2 separate regions of the Homo sapiens genome follow, and region 2 is linked to region 1. The links are contacts of gene promoters, found by promoter capture Hi-C in blood cells and fetal thymus (Javierre and others, 2016). All regions are on one chromosome and are shown on one strand. The core of a region is centred on a gene start or on the middle of the fragment in contact, and the rest is flanking DNA. Distances in the headings are between cores, read along the strand shown.

Region 1 (2,978 bases), core at 288-2,787:
CAAGGTATGTGCTGGGTACAGAGGCTGAGAAAACACGGGACAGAGTGGTGGAAGATGGGCCTGGGATTGTGGAAAAAACAGAAAGCACCAGCCCTGTTTGATCCTTCTAGAAGGATTTTTTTGTAGTGTCCCAATGATACCTTTCATTGATAATGGTTACCATTTCATTGAGCACCTCCTAAGTGCTGTGCTGAATAGCTGTGTTACTGCTAGTTCCAGCAATCCTGCATGGTAGGTGTTTTCTCTATTTACACATAGGAAGAGAAGCTCTGAGTGCCTGAGTGCCCAGCTTGTCATATACGATGCTTGGATTTGTGCAAGCATTGATCTCAATGGCCTGGTAATTATAAAAGCTGAAGAACAGCTGAAATCAAGAACTTCTCCACCCCAGCCCCTGAGGACAATACCACCTCCAAATGCCTTGGGCCCACTCTGGTCTCTGGTGTGGTGGGACAGCGCTGTCCGGTCTGCGCAGGTGATTTATGTCTGCCTGCTTTTCGGAGAGGCCAGAGTTTATTGCCTTGCTGGGCAGAACTGCAGCTGGGGCCTGCCCTGTCCCATCCCCATCCCCCCGAAAGCAAAGATTTCCAATTACTGTTCTGTAGAAAATGTCAAAAGCATTATTCAACTATTCATTATCCCAGGTTTTGCAATTTTTCATATGTTTTTACTCTTATCTGCCAGCACTTGAAAAAGACCAGCTTTTTCCTCTTAAGAGAGCTTAATTTGCAGAGCTGTGCAGTCTTCCTATTATGTTCTTATCATCCTCTCCCTTTGGTAGGCAGAATGACAAGGATGACAAAAAAAGAACCAAAAATATTTGAAGGCCTTCCTGAAAATCCACCGGAATGAAGGATCCCAAAAGCCTGAGGCTCGGTTCCTCGAGTGACCTGGACGGGAGCCAAGGGCGGCTGGCATTAGCTCTCACAGTCCACTCGGCAGGAGCTCGTGGCTAGTGCTCATGGGACCAAAACCACCACCCCAGGGCCATGGGATTCCCCCCCAGGGGCTTAACTGGGGGATTAAGCAGCTCTGAGGTGCCAAGAGGTCCCCTCTCCCCGAAATCCTCGTACCAGTGCTAAATTACCTTTGGTATCCCAAGGACCAGAGGCTAAGGGTAGCTTGGGGTGAGTGGTTAGCTCTTCCCCCATCTCCTGTGGCCCCTCCGCCCCATTCTTTGATAAGGTAACTGACATTTTTCTCTTTGCTGTGTAAAGTGCTATGCAGAGGCAACTTCACGTCCCCTAGCTCGCTCTGTTCCACCTAGATGGCGCCCTAAGCCCCGCCTGTATGGAGATTCGGAGCAGCCATCTCCCTGGATGCCTTCCTCCCACGATCCCCAGGTTTCTGAAGCGGGCGCACCAGGACTCCTGGCTCACCCAGAGAGACGCCTTGCCCGCGGCGGGGCTCGCTCGGGGAAATCCCCGCCCACCTTGTTATTCCTGCAGGGGAATCCCCGCCCCCCGTCCCTGTCACTCGGGGAAGGGAGTTCCCGCCCCTCGAATCAACCAGGGGGAGGGAATCCCCGCCCATCCTGGAGGCTCGGCGGATCCCCTGCGCAGCGAGGCGAGGAGCGGACCCCAGCGCCGGTGCGTGCCGGCCCCGGGCAGCGGGACGCGGCGGGGCGGCGGCTGCAGGCAGCCGAGGAGCCGCAGGCCGAACCCAAGGCACCGGGATTGCGCCTCCCGCGGCTGCCGGCGAACCGCGGCTCTGCAGCTCGGGGCAGGCGCGGCGGCGGCACCGGTGGTGGCCGCGGTGGCGGCAGCTGCGCGGGGACCCGCCGGGCGGCGCCTGGGTCTGGACGCGCGAGGAAGCCGCGGGAGCCTCGGCCAAGCCGCGAGCAGGTGAAGCGACCGTCCCGCTGCAGCCGGGACGCGCGGCTCCGGGTGGGCAGGGGATGGGGGAGGCCCGGCACCCCCGAGACCGTGTGTGCCCAGGAAAGTTTAGCTACAAATCCGGGTGCGGGAATCCCAGCCCTGGCAGGGCGGGGAGTGAGGACGCCGAACCGGGGTCCCACGTTGGGCGGCGCAAACTCCTCTAGCATCCGGCCGGGGACGGGGAGGGCGCAGCCCAGGGGAGGGGGCTAGACAGAGCGGGACCGAGACAGCGGGACAACCGGAGACGCACTGCCGGGGGTACTCAAGACAGGGCCGGGACCTCCTGCTCGGGCGCGCATCCCGGGTCCCCATCCCTGGGCCGTCTTCTGGTCCCTTCCTCCGACAGGAGTGGAGGTACTCAGGTACTCCGGCCTCAGGTAATGTCTTGGGGACCATCCTCCCTCGGGCTTGTTTCATCTCTCAACCCCCGCCTCTTTGCCCAGATGAGACGTTAGACGCGGGGCGAGGGAATGCAGGGGGCGCGCAAAGATCAAGGGCATCTTAGGGCCGGTTATTGGCGTCTGCCGGGGAGATGGGGAACATAGTGATAGGGAAATCCTGCTCTCTCTCTGAAGTCGAGTTTCTCCTAAAATCTGGTTTCTCCCTCCCTCTGTTCCTCTCTCCCTCCCTCGGGTTTGCGTTTGTGTTTTAAGTCTTTGAGCTGCCTGTGGTCCCCGCTATTTGGAAAATCCATTAAAGCGCAAGGCTGAATTCAGCAGCAGGAGGGTCCAGGACCCCTGGCAGGAGTTTGCCAGAAGCTGTCCTCGGCAGCCCAAATCTATGCAGAGACCTTGATAAGGGACACTGGAGTGGGAAGAGGACAAGGTCTGGCATGGGCTGGTCGCAGAGACTGGAATGGCAGGCACGAGGGCATTCCAGAGCTCCAGACCTGCCCTGGGACTGGCCGTTGGGCAGTGTTGGGGGATGGAGCTGAGTCTGAGTCTGTCCCCTGCAGCTGGCCTAACCTCTTGCCTCCACCAAAGGTAGGGTAGGTGGATATGTTTGCCTTGACAAATCGCAATGAAACTACTGGAAGTGGTTGCTGAGTGGCTGCAGTAAGTGATGCCCTGATCTGTCCTTGCAGAGAGACCCCCTGGACCT
Region 2 (2,978 bases), core at 280-2,779, 670 kb after region 1:
ACACATATCTTGAATTTAAAGATACATATGCAAATGCCTCAGGCCCCAGGTGGTCTTTACGGAAGCAGTCCCTGATCAGATCTCTCATCCACAGCCCACGTGCTTCTGCATTACAGAGGTGGGAAGACATCTGCAACAAATTTGGCGGTGCTTCTGCACTTCTGCTGGAGAGAAGGGCAGAAAAAAACCTTTACAGATGCAAAACAAGAAGGCTTCTCATTAGGCATTTGGATTAAGAACTATTGCTCAAGAAGCCCTGAGCAAGGCCTACAAGTTCTGATCTCTCTAACCTCCTCTCCTATGACTGTCCCCCTTGTCCATGGGCCTCTGCCATGCTGGCTTCCTTGACGCTCCGCCAACCCTTCAGACACACTCCCACCTCACGACCTTCCCGGGGGCTGTTCCCTCTACCTGGACGACTCTTCTCTCAGACCTCTCGTATCTTCAAGTCTCGGCTCAAATGCCACCTTTGCGAGGAGGAAAAAGATTTCTTTTCTTTCCCATGATATTTATCACCTCCTACTACACCGTATAATTTACTTAATTATCTATAATTCACCCCGTTTCTCCTTTCCCCCTCAAATAAGCTCCAGGAATGCAGAGATCTCTGTCCTGTTCACTGATGTCTATCACAAGCACTTAGTGCCTGACACACAGTAGGAGCTCGAGAAGTATTTTCTGAATGAATGAACAAATTTCTTGACCTGAAGATTCAGAAGAGTAAGAAGTGGGTGGAAAGGATGATGGTGAGGGGATGAGGAGAAAGAAGCGACAGCGGAGAATTCCCAAGGGAGAGACAAGCAGAGACTGGCTGAGGCCAGGCCGACCCCCTTTTCTCCCCGCAGCGCTGACGGGAGGCGGACGTAGGTGCAGGGCATCCCGCCAGCCGCACCCGAGGCACTCAGACGCAGGCAGCGGAGGCCGGCGGGCTTCTGGGCTCACTGAGAAAGTCCAGAGGCAGGACGGACCCACGCGGGCTCCGAGCAGGCCCCGTTGGGGGCTCCGACCCACGGCCCTACCCCTCCCAGCAGTGCCCACAACCCCAGGTCCTCTCCAGAATCCCCAGGGGCGTTCCGGGCCGCAATCCCTTCTCGGCTCGGGCCCCTCCACCAGCCTCCAGCGCTCGGGCCCTGCGCTCAGGCACCTGCCTGCCTGCGCCGGGGTCCCCATTCCGGCCCGCGCGGAGGCCCCAGCGCGCTCCTGCGGCCTCAGCCCGCCTGGCTGCCCCGTCGCCCGGCACAAGGGCAGGAAGCGCTCCGCGGCGCTCCCCGCTGCAAGGAAGGGGCTCCCGGCGCCCCTCGCCCCGGCCGCCCCTGCCCGACGCCCCGCCTGCGCGGCGCCCCCTCACCTCAGGGCGTACGTACGACACGAAGGAGGGCTTGGGGGCCTTGGTGCCGCCGCCACCGCCGACTACTCCTTTCCCCAGCATACCGCCGCCCTGGGAAGCAGCGACGCGCGGACGCAGAGGCGGCGGCTCGGGCTCCAGCTGGGGCAGCAGCGGCGGCCACCAGCACTAGCGGCTGGGGCTCCGCCCATCCCCAAGGCCGCGACCGCCGCGATGCCGCCCGCATCCGGCTCCGCCGCTGACACCGCTCGCCCCGCCCAGGCCCGTGGGCCCCGCCCATCCCGTGCGCGGGCCCAGAGAGCCGGGAGACCGCAACTGGAGGCCACGCCCCCCCATCACGTCAGGAGAGTTTGACCCGCCGAGATTCACCACCTTCCTGCGGCAGAGCCCGCCCTCATGCTTTCTCTGATTGGCCCGAGGCGCTGCCGGCCGAACCCCGCTCCCAACCCATTCTTGAGTGCACTTGGAGAGATGTTTCCTCCAACCAATCCAGAGAGCGTTCTCTCCGGACTTTCCAACGATTGGATGGCGAGGATAAAACCGTCGTCCAATGATCCTGCAGTCACCAAGTTGTCGTTAGCAGGGGTTCACGGCAGTCGTTTTCTTCCGTTTGCTTGTGTCTTTGGAATAAAACGTCCAAAAATGGGATGTATGGAATCTTGCTATAGGAGTTCCCAACTTACAGCGATGACGTTCAAGGTTTTTTATTTTATTATTATTTACTTTTGAGACGGAGTTTTGCTCTTGTCGCCCAGGCTGGAGTGCAATGGCGCGATCTCTGCTCATTGCAACCTCCGTCTCCCAGGTTCAAGCGATTCTCTTGCCTCAGCCTCCTGAGTAGCTGGGATTACAGGCGCCCGCCACTATATCCAGCTAATTTTGTGTGTGTGTGTGTGTGTGTGTGTGTGTGTCGTTCTGTCGCCCAGGCTTGAGTGCAATGGCGTAGTATAGGCTCACTGCAACCTCTGCCTCCCAGGTTCAAGCGATTCTCCTGCCTCAGCCTCCCGAGTAGCTGGGATTATAGGCGCCTGCCATCACACCCGGCTAATTTTTGTATTTTTAGTAGAGACGGGGTTTCACCATGTTGGCCAGGCTAGTCTCAAACCCCTAACCTCGTGATCCGCCCGCCTCAGCCTCCCAAAGTGTTGGGATTAGAGGCATGAGCCACCGCGCCATGCCGCTAATTTTTGTATTTTTAATGGAGACGGGGGTTTCACCATGTTGGCCAGGCTGGTCTCAAACTCCTGACTTCAGATGATCCACCCGCTTCGGCCTCCCGAAGTGCTGGGATTACAGGCGTGAGCCACCGCGCCCGACCTCAAGGTTTATTATTTTAAATGTAAACAAAAATGAGACAAACGATGACTCACGCCTCTAATCCCAGCACTTTGGGAGGCCGAGGCGGGTGGATCATCTGAAGTCAGGAGTTTGAGACCAGCCTGGCCAACATGGAGAAACCCTATCTCTACTAAAAATACAAAAATTAGCCTGGTGTGGTGGCGGGCGCCTGTAATCCCAGCTACTCGGGAGGCTGAGGCACGAGAATCGCTTGAACCAAGGTTGCAGTGAGCCAGGATCGCGCCACTGCACTCCAGCCTGGGTGGCAGAGCAAGACTGTGTCTCAAACAGAAAA

What was found. Contacts are between HindIII fragments. The CHiCAGO score rates a contact against its expected background, and 5 or more counts as called.
Region 2: a contact is called between the fragment with the promoter of MTMR12 here and the fragment with the promoter of PDZD2 in region 1, in 10 of 17 cell types (non-activated CD4 T cells, total CD4 T cells, activated CD4 T cells and 7 more). The highest score is 24.5, in non-activated CD4 T cells.

What each region holds. Positions count from the first base shown.
Region 1 is chr5:31,637,594-31,640,571 of GRCh38, forward strand. It overlaps PDZD2 (PDZ domain containing 2), which reads left to right and starts at 1,538. Exons shown (of 25, transcript NM_178140.4): 1 at 1,538-1,844. RefSeq lists a silencer at 1,492-1,841. The HindIII fragment of the contact is 6,072 bases long and covers 1-2,978 here.
Region 2 is chr5:32,311,410-32,314,387 of GRCh38, forward strand. It overlaps MTMR12 (myotubularin related protein 12), which reads right to left and starts at 1,530. Exons shown (of 16, transcript NM_001040446.3): 1 at 1,349-1,530. The coding sequence starts at 1,429. RefSeq lists silencers at 859-998, 1,069-1,858 and an enhancer at 1,949-1,998. The HindIII fragment of the contact is 10,159 bases long and covers 1-2,978 here.